Linked DNA regions of Homo sapiens: region 2 is linked to region 1. The links are contacts of gene promoters, found by promoter capture Hi-C in blood cells and fetal thymus (Javierre and others, 2016). All regions are on one chromosome and are shown on one strand. Each heading gives the region's core, a stretch centred on a gene start or on the middle of the fragment in contact. The rest is flanking DNA. Distances are from core to core; before and after follow the strand shown. Region 1 holds the start of SNRNP40 (small nuclear ribonucleoprotein U5 subunit 40). Region 2 overlaps SPOCD1 (SPOC domain containing 1).

Evidence for each region. Contacts are between HindIII fragments. The CHiCAGO score rates a contact against its expected background, and 5 or more counts as called.
Region 2: a contact is called between a fragment that was not itself captured here and the fragment with the promoter of SNRNP40 in region 1, in 1 of 17 cell types (neutrophils). The highest score is 6.5, in neutrophils.

Annotation. Positions count from the first base shown.
Region 1 is chr1:31,294,177-31,298,500 of GRCh38, reverse strand. SNRNP40 (small nuclear ribonucleoprotein U5 subunit 40) reads left to right here and starts at 1,713. Exons shown (of 10, transcript NM_004814.3): 1 at 1,713-1,890. The coding sequence starts at 1,750. It overlaps ZCCHC17 (zinc finger CCHC-type containing 17), which reads right to left and starts at 1,469. Exons shown (of 8, transcript NM_016505.4): 1 at 1,426-1,469. RefSeq lists an enhancer at 1,735-1,944. The HindIII fragment of the contact is 7,877 bases long and covers 1-4,324 here.
Region 2 is chr1:31,788,574-31,792,897 of GRCh38, reverse strand. It overlaps SPOCD1 (SPOC domain containing 1), which reads left to right. Exons shown (of 16, transcript NM_144569.7): 14 at 131-220; 15 at 497-683; 16 at 1,607-2,476. The coding sequence ends at 2,295. Among named protein-coding and RNA genes, the nearest start is that of SPOCD1, 25 kb to the left of the region's middle. RefSeq lists silencers at 3,506-3,795, 4,126-4,175 and an enhancer at 3,961-4,324. The HindIII fragment of the contact is 2,297 bases long and covers 884-3,180 here.

The DNA.
Region 1 (4,324 bases), core at 464-2,963:
GGCAGGAGAATTGCTTGAACCTGGGAGGTGGAGGTTGCAGTGAGCCAAGGTTGCACCACCACACTCCAGCCTGGGCGACAGAGCAAGAACCTGTCTCAAAAAAAAAAAAAAAACAAAAAAAAACTGGTCTCTAATCATCTTCTAGTGTTCCCTATCCAGCTTGAGGGATTCCGTGATAGTGAGTGAATGGTACCACCATCTATTCAACTACATAAGCCAGAAACCTAGGAGTTACCTTTGATTCCTCTCTTCACTCCCTAAAATCAACCCATCACCAAGTCCCACCCATTTTACCTCCTATATACCTCTAGAATCTGTCCAATTCTCTGCAGTTCCACCCATATCTCAGTCCTCACTGACATCTCTGACCAGGATTACTGCATATCCCAAGTGGTCCACATACATCGACTAGGGCTTCCCCAACCCCCGTCTGTTCACACCACTGAGCCTGAGGGATCAAGTCCCCTCCTCCACCACACCCCACTGGGGGAAGACGGCTCAGTGGTATCTCATCCGTTTTAAAATAAAAGCTACAAATTCCTGCAAGGTCTGACCGCTATCACGTACAGCTTCATCTTGTACCATACTCCCTTCATTCTCTTTGTACCAGCCACACTGGCTCTTTGTGCTTTTAGTCATTTTCCTCCCAAGTGCCTCAGGGCTCTGAACAAGTAGTTCTCTATGGAAGGTTCTGCCTTCACTTCTTCACCTAATTAATTACAACACTTCCTGCAGCTACCAGCGCAGGCATCTTTTCCTCTGAAAAACCTTCCTGCTTATTTCAGGCACTCATAGCATCAGGCAGCAGTAGGAGGCATTTCCATGTATTAGTGAGGTCATTGTTTAACGTTTTCCCCACCAGAGTTAAACGCCCTGAGAGTAGGGACCGTGCCCGGTTCACAACATACCCCCAACGCGCTGCTAAATGAATATCAGCAGGACGACTGAGGCAATGACCACGTTCATGGGCATGAGTCTCAAATTTCTCAACAAGACTGTGCTCTGGAGAAGGAGTCGGACATTTCCTTCATCACTGTCTCTCTCAGGGGGGCATACAGTAGGCCCTGATCAAAAACTGCAAAATCAGTGGCAGAAACAAGTCAGCCTCCTCGGCCAAATGGGGCACCGGAGGAGGCTGGGACGCAGGCCTTTCTCCCTGGGAATGCCCGGCACAGGACTGGCCACGATGGGCGCTCTTGAAGAAGGGAGCCGCAGGGGCTGGGTCTTGCCGCCAGAGACCCCAAGGCTCCGCTCCTGCCCCGAAAGGGAGCCCAGGCTACTACTTACCACAGCTGGGGACTCGGGGCCCGCCTCCCACCCCTTGCTGTCAGCACCCTCAGCTGAGAAGGGCAGGTTCAGACTGCACAACCGAGGCGTCGCCTCCAGACTCAGGCAGCCACCCACCCCGTTCTTCCTCATACGTACTAGGCGTCAGCTCCAGGTCCCCGAGTCGCTGCGCTGAACTAAACGCCGACCCCAGTCAGCCAGCGCGTTTCCACCCACAAGACCCAGCGCGCCTAGGGCGGTCGCCAGCTCCGTCCACCAATCCTGGTATCGCACTCTCATGACGTCAGAAAGATATGCCCAATAACAAGAGACTATCCGAGGGCGGTGCAAATGGAAATATTGAAAGCCGATTGGTTCTTCCAAGCTGGAAGTTGTGGAGGAAGGACTAATTTGGAACCAATTGCGTGGCGCCTGAGAGCGGCAGCGCGGTCAGTGGCGGCGCTGAAGAGACCGGTTGCCGCCATGATAGAACAGCAGAAGCGTAAGGGCCCAGAGTTGCCGCTGGTTCCAGTCAAGCGGCAGCGGCATGAGTTGCTGTTGGGAGCGGGGTCTGGCCCAGGAGCCGGGCAGCAGCAGGCGACGCCGGGAGCCTTGCTGCAAGCGGTAAGTGAAGAAGCAGGCGGCCTTTGGCCCTCAGCTCATCTTCCTCCCCTCAGAGCGCTGTATCTGGTGATCCCTGACCCTTTCCCGCATTGCGGGGGCAGAACGAGAGTTTCTACGCAGAGTTAAAGCACATAAACACTGTAAAAGCTCCCCATAGCCTGCGAATGCTGCGTACGTGTTCCCCCGTTTGGCGCCCGTTTTCAGCCTCTCGACTGCCCTGAGATAGCATTAGAATTAGAGTTGAGGACCTTGGGCTCAAAACCCTGACCCGGGTTTAAGCATCCTGACTCTAACATGGATCTGGCATAGAACAAAAATTCCGAAGAGTGTGTAGAATGAATGAATGAGGGAGGGAAGAAAAAAGGGAAATGATTTGTGTTGGCTCGTTTTGGGACTTTGGGCAAGTTGCTTTTCCCTTTATTTCTCTGCACTAGTATTATTAACAACTAAATAGCAGCTAACATTCATTGACTCTTGTACTAAAGTGTTTCGTATATGAAATTTCCATTGATCTTGGTAGCAGCCTGTTAGGAACGTTATTAACCCATTTTGCAGATGGAAAAACAGACTTACCAAGTACGTGATAGAAGCAGATTTCGAACTGAGAAACCATGCTCCTAACTACATTTTTTGTAAGATAGAAATAGTGATCACACTTCTAATGTCCTGTTTAGGCTCAGACGAGGAAATACGAGTGTCCTCACATCTCCTCAATAAATCCTGCTGGCACCGTCCTCAAAATAGGTCTAGAATTGCTACTTCTACCATCTCCATCATTGCCTCATGGCCTAAGCCATTATTATCTCATCTGGCATTTTTGTAGTGGGACCCTAACTGGTCTTCCACTTTCTACCTTTGTATCAGCACCTGTTACCAAGCCAATAACCAAAGGAATCCTTCTAAACATCAGATCACATTACACTCTGCAGAAAACTTTCTGGTGGCTTTGTACTTCATCCAGAGTAAAAACCAAAATTCTTGTAATTATTTGCCCTCTTTCCCTTTACCTCTCTGACCAATTTCTTATTGCTCACCTGGCTTCAGTTACTCTCTCTTCCAAGCCTCTGCTTCAGGACCTTTGCATTTGCTGTCCTCTCTGTGGGATTGCTCTTCACAAATGTTTACATGGTTTACTATTCAGCTCCTGCGAATATTTGCCCAAATGTAATTTTTTCAGTGAGGATTTTCCTGACCACCCTATTTTAAATTGCAGTACCACATACTGTGGAACCCACATTGCTTCTCTCTCTCTCTTTTTTTGTTTTTTTGTTTTTAGACAATCTCTCTGTGTTGACCACTGGCTCAGTACAGCCTCCACCACCTGGGCTCAAGTGATCCTCCTGCCTCAGCCTCCTGAGTAGCTGGGACCACAGACACACACCACCACATCTAACTAATTGTATTTTTTTGTAGAGACAGGATTTCACTCCTGAGCTCAAGCAATCCGCACACCTTGGCCTCCCAAAATGCTGAGATTACAGGCATGAGCCACCATCCCCATCCCTTCTTTTGCTCTATAGCACATGACACCACATATATAGTTTGCTTGTTTTCTCTCACCTTCCCTTCTCCCTTCCCCCTTTCCCACTGGAACAGCGAGCTCCATTGTTTATTTTGTTCATTGCTGTTTGCCCAGTGCCTAGCACGTAACTTCTTTTTTTTTTTTTTAAGATGGAATTTTGCTCTTGTCACCCAGGCTGGAGTGGAGTGGCGCAATCTCGGTGCACCGCAACCTCCGCCACCCGGGTTCAAGCGATTCTCCTGCCTCAGCCTCCTGAGTGGCTGGAATTACAGGCGCCCGCCACCATGCCTGGCTAATTTTTGTATATTTTTAGTAGAGACGGAGTTTCACCATGTTGGTCAGGCTGGTCTCAAACTTTTGACCTCAAGTGATCCGCCCACCTCAGCCTCCCAAAGTGCTGGGATTACAGGTGTGAGCCACCGCGCCCAGCCTGCACATAACATTTTTTAAAACTAAATGAATCTGGCCGGGCTTGGTGGTGGGTGCCTGTAATCCCAGCCACTCGGGAGGCTGATGCAGGAGAATCGCTTGAACCCAGGAGGCGGAGTTTGCGATGAGACGAGATCACGCCATTGTACTCCAGCCTGGGCAACAGAGCAAGACTCCTTCCCCAAAAAATAAATAAATAAATAAATAAATATGAAAATGCTGGGAAGTACTGAAGAGATTTGGGGATTATGGGTAGTATACTTCTCCCATTTGACAAGTGAGCATATCAGCCCATGTTTAGATGAATTGCCCAAGTGTCATCTTGGTGTCCAAGACCATAATCAAAACTACTTCACCCATGCTGAGGATCCGTTTGCTATGAAAAAATAAGAAATAAAAATAGGCCAGGTGCAGTGGCTCATGCCTATAATCCCAGCACTCTGGGAGGCCAAGGCAGGCAGATCACATGAGGCCAGGAGTTTG
Region 2 (4,324 bases), core at 783-3,282, 490 kb before region 1:
CCACTGAGGGTCCTGGAACACTGCCTGCCCATATTTGCCACAGGCTGCAGCCTTCCAGGTGGCTGGGAATGCGTCCACCCTGAGTGGGTGGGAAGCTGGGGAGCTGACTGGCCATCCTTCCTGCCCCTAGGCTCTGCCCACCGTGATCCGCTCGGCAGGCTGCATCCCCTCCAACATTGTCTGGGACCTTCTGGCCAGCATCTGCCCAGCCAAGGCCAAGGTACCTGCCCACTCTTGGGCACCCCCTCTTTTCCTAGTACCTTACTCCCACCTCCCTCTCCACTTCTAGAGCAGAGGCCTGGCTTGGATATCTGGGTCTAGTTCCCAGAGTGACTGCAGACTCACTGTGTGACCCTGGACAGGTCCCTCTGTTTCCTCCTCTGGAAGATGGAGACATACTTTCTCACGGGGTTCTCAGGGGTTTCAGGGAGCCCAGGGGTGTTGGCAGGAGCAGAGGATGACTGCGCTTACAGCTGCTCTCCTCCTGCCACCGCAGGACGTCTGCGTGGTCAGACTGTGCCCACATGGGGCCCGGGACACCCAGAACTGCCGCCTGCTCTACTCATACCTCAATGATAGGCAGCGCCACGGGCTGGCCTCTGTGGAGCACATGGGGATGGTCCTGCTGCCCCTGCCTGCCTTCCAGCCCCTGCCCACCAGGCTGCGCCCTTTGGGGGGCCCAGGTGAGTGCCTAGTCCCCATACCAGACCCTGCCTCTGCTCACTTGGTGACCAGACCAGGCACGGTTGACACAGTCACCCAGTAGAGGCAGGCACATCTCAGAAGGGAACTCCTCACCCAGCCAGGCAAATGTGAGTACAATGACAGTAATAGCTCACGCTTGGATATCATGAACTGCATGCCAGCCATTGTTCTAAAAGCTTTACCTAGATGAATTCTTGTAGTCTCATCACCCTATGAGAATGGTACTATTAGACTAGACTGTCCATCTCATAGAAGAAGAATCTGAGGGAGGAAGAAGGCAAATGACTTGTCCAAAGTCACACAGTCAGTCAACAGCAGAACTGGGCTTCACTCTGTTCACACGTTGTGTGAAGCACAACATGGCTTCAGAAACCTGGCCCCTAACCACCACACCACACTGCCTCTCAAGGTAGGCACCCCTGAAGAGAAACTCCAGGGACAGCCACATTTGACCCAGGCAGCAGGACAGAGTCAGGACCTACACACACTTGACTGTAAATGTCACCTCAGAGAGGAGGGAGGGATGTTTCGCCACAGCCACGGGGGGCCGAGCTCGGCCTCTGTGCATGGACACCCTCCACGGCGTGGCTCAGGAAAGCAGCGAGGTTGGCAGTGGGCGCTTTGCCCACTCCTGAGCAAAGCGCTTGGCCTTTTGGGGCTCCATGTCCTGAGACAATGAGGTAGACTTTGAGTCTGTAGAGTCTTCAGGTCAAACAATCCATACCCCAGCCTCAGCCAGATAAGCCTTGATCCCGCAGAGCTCAAATCTTCCGAGACAGCCCCACCTTCCTACTTACTTTTCCCAGCATCTCATGGGCCCCATCTCACTGTGAAGAAGCCCTTCCTGGGATGTAGGCTCCAGATCTGCTGCAGCTAAGCTGAACACAGTTCTTCCCCGCAGGCCTTTGGGCTCTTCCTGTCTCCCCTCTCCTTTCCCCAGGTCTGGAGGTCACTCACTCAAGTCTGTTGCTGGCTGTGCTGCTCCCCAAGGAAGGGCTTCCAGACACAGCAGGGTCCAGCCCCTGGTTGGGGAAGGTTCAAAAGATGGTCTCCTTCAACAGTAAGGTGGAGAAGAGATACTATCAGCCAGATGACAGGAGGCCGAATGTGCCCCTGAAGGGCACCCCTCCCCCAGGAGGTGCCTGGCAGCAGAGCCAGGGCAGGGGCAGTATAGCTCCAAGGGGAATCTCTGCTTGGCAGAGGCCCCCCAGAGGCAGGGGGAGGCTCTGGCCAGAGCCTGAAAACTGGCAGCATCCTGGGCGAGGGCAGTGGCCCCCAGAGCCAGGCTTGCGCCAGTCCCAGCATCCCTATTCAGTAGCACCAGCTGGTCATGGCTTTGGCCGTGGCCAGCACTTCCACAGGGACTCCTGTCCCCACCAAGCCCTGCTCCGGCACCTCGAATCCCTGGCGACCATGAGTCACCAGCTCCAAGCCTTACTGTGCCCCCAGACCAAGAGCTCCATCCCCCGCCCTCTGCAGCGTTTGTCTAGCGCCCTTGCAGCTCCAGAGCCCCCTGGCCCAGCCCGTGACTCCTCTTTGGGGCCTACAGATGAAGCTGGCTCTGAGTGTCCCTTCCCTAGAAAGGCCTGACCCTCCTTACCCACCAGAACAGGGGTTTTGATGCCCTCACTAGTGTTGAAGCCTGTTCCAGAGAGAGGTGGGACTGCAAGGAGAGGATGGTCAGCCCTACCCACCTGCCCTGTTTGAACTTCCTGTTTGACAATGTTTGCTGTTGATTTTTTGTTCAATAAAGAATTTGGTAAAATTGGGATTGCATCTGCTAGCTGGTCAGGAGAGCCCCTGGTCCTGGTCAGATGTGGGTTGAGTGGGTGTGTCAGTGAGTGTCTTGTGCACAAATGTGCAGCCTTGCTCATTGCTGGTCTGAGGTCCTGAACCATCACTGCGCCCCAGGGCACAGCTATTGCCACGGTGGTTTCTGGAAGCATTTTGCAAGTATTCTGAACCAGGAGGAAGAGGTGGTGGTGGGAAAGAAAGTAGGACCGAGGTTGGGGGTGGAGAGAGAAATGGACAGAGCCTTTTGGAGGGTCACAGACATCAGACATCAAGAGATTGCTAGAGAGGAAAAGATAAGCAAGTTGCAGTGGACTTTAAATTTTTCAGTTAATACTAAGATTTTTTTTTCCTTTGACTAGATGGGGAAGGATAGTACATACCTTCACCATATTCCCTCCGAGTCTCTGTCTATGTGCTTCTCAGGGATCTCTGTGCACTAGTGTGCCTGCAAGCATGTGAGAGTATCTGTGTGAGTTTCATGGCCTGCCTGTGTGTAGGTCTCTGTTGAGGAAGTCAGGAGATCCAGATTGGGTGACTCCTCTCTGTATCTCTTGCCAGATTCCAGAGACTGGTGTTAGAAAATGTCAAAGGTCTTAGCCTTGGTGGTGGGCATTCAGGGTGGGGTTGGAGACTGGTATTAGGGTTGGACGGTGCTGCCTTGCCTTGGGCCTAGAACAAGCTTCTAACAGCAACTGCAACTGTCAAGCGTTTCATGTGGGGTGTACCTCGAGAGAGCTGCATCTGCGGACTGATGGGGGAACCAGCTGCCAGGGCCAACCAACCCAGCGTGGGGAAAGGGGCCTGGCTTCCAGGAGAGAACCTCTCTAGAACCCCACCCTTCGCCCCGGGGCCAGAAGGGCCCTACCCGCTCTTTGCTCACCCCTTCGCAAAGTCCACCCATGTACAGGCCTCACCCTGGCCCCTGCTGGACTGGAAGGGGTGGGGCGATGGTCGGTTGGGGGAGCCCTTCTTCTCTGCCCCATGAGCTCTGCGGCTGCCCTACCCGCGGACGACAGCAGAGGGGGCCCTCGGCCTTGGGATGGAGGTCGGGGCTGGCAGGACCGGAGTCAAAGCGGGGGGTGGGGCGAGGTGCGGGAACTTAGCGCAAGGAGTTGGAAGCGGGGGCGGGGTAGGATGCGGGTGGGGTGCGGGTGAGGGGTAGGGAGAGGGGGCTGGACAGTTGAACCGGGAGAGGGAGCGGGGCTCCTTCGGGAACTTTTCCGGCTCGAAATGGCCTGGGAGCGCCGCAGCCTCCGCGCTCTATGCAAATGACGCAAATTACTATGCAAACCTACAGCTTGGTTCTGAGCCCACAGTTTGGGTGGTTTTCCTAATGCAGTTGGTATGGAGGGAAACGGGTGTGCACTCCCTCCCCTCCAGGTCCAGGGCTTCCTCCGGAGAGCCGCCAGAGCCGCTCTCCTGGAACACGCAGGCAAGAGCGAGCTCTGTACCCTGGGCAGGGATTTCCTTTGGGAGCTTCAGTTTTCCCTTCTGTAAATGGGGGTGATAACGCGGCTCTGTAACAGCTCGCCCGTGGAAGGGCTGTAGGTGGGCCCCGAAATCCTGCAGCCTGCTAAACATGACACCCTCCCCCACCCCCGCCACCTTTTGGCCCCAGTCCACGAGCCCCTTGCCCCTCTCTCTCTCGGCAGAAGCCTGGAGCGAGGATTAGGCATGACGTTGCTAGGGGGCGTGACTGACGGTTGCTAGGCTCCAGGGACGTTGCTATGCAACGCTGGGCGGGGCTTGTTGTTGCTAGGCCGGAGCCGGAATCGCCCGGGACCCGGAAGGGACACCTCGCGCCCTGGGTTTTAGTGGAAGGCGC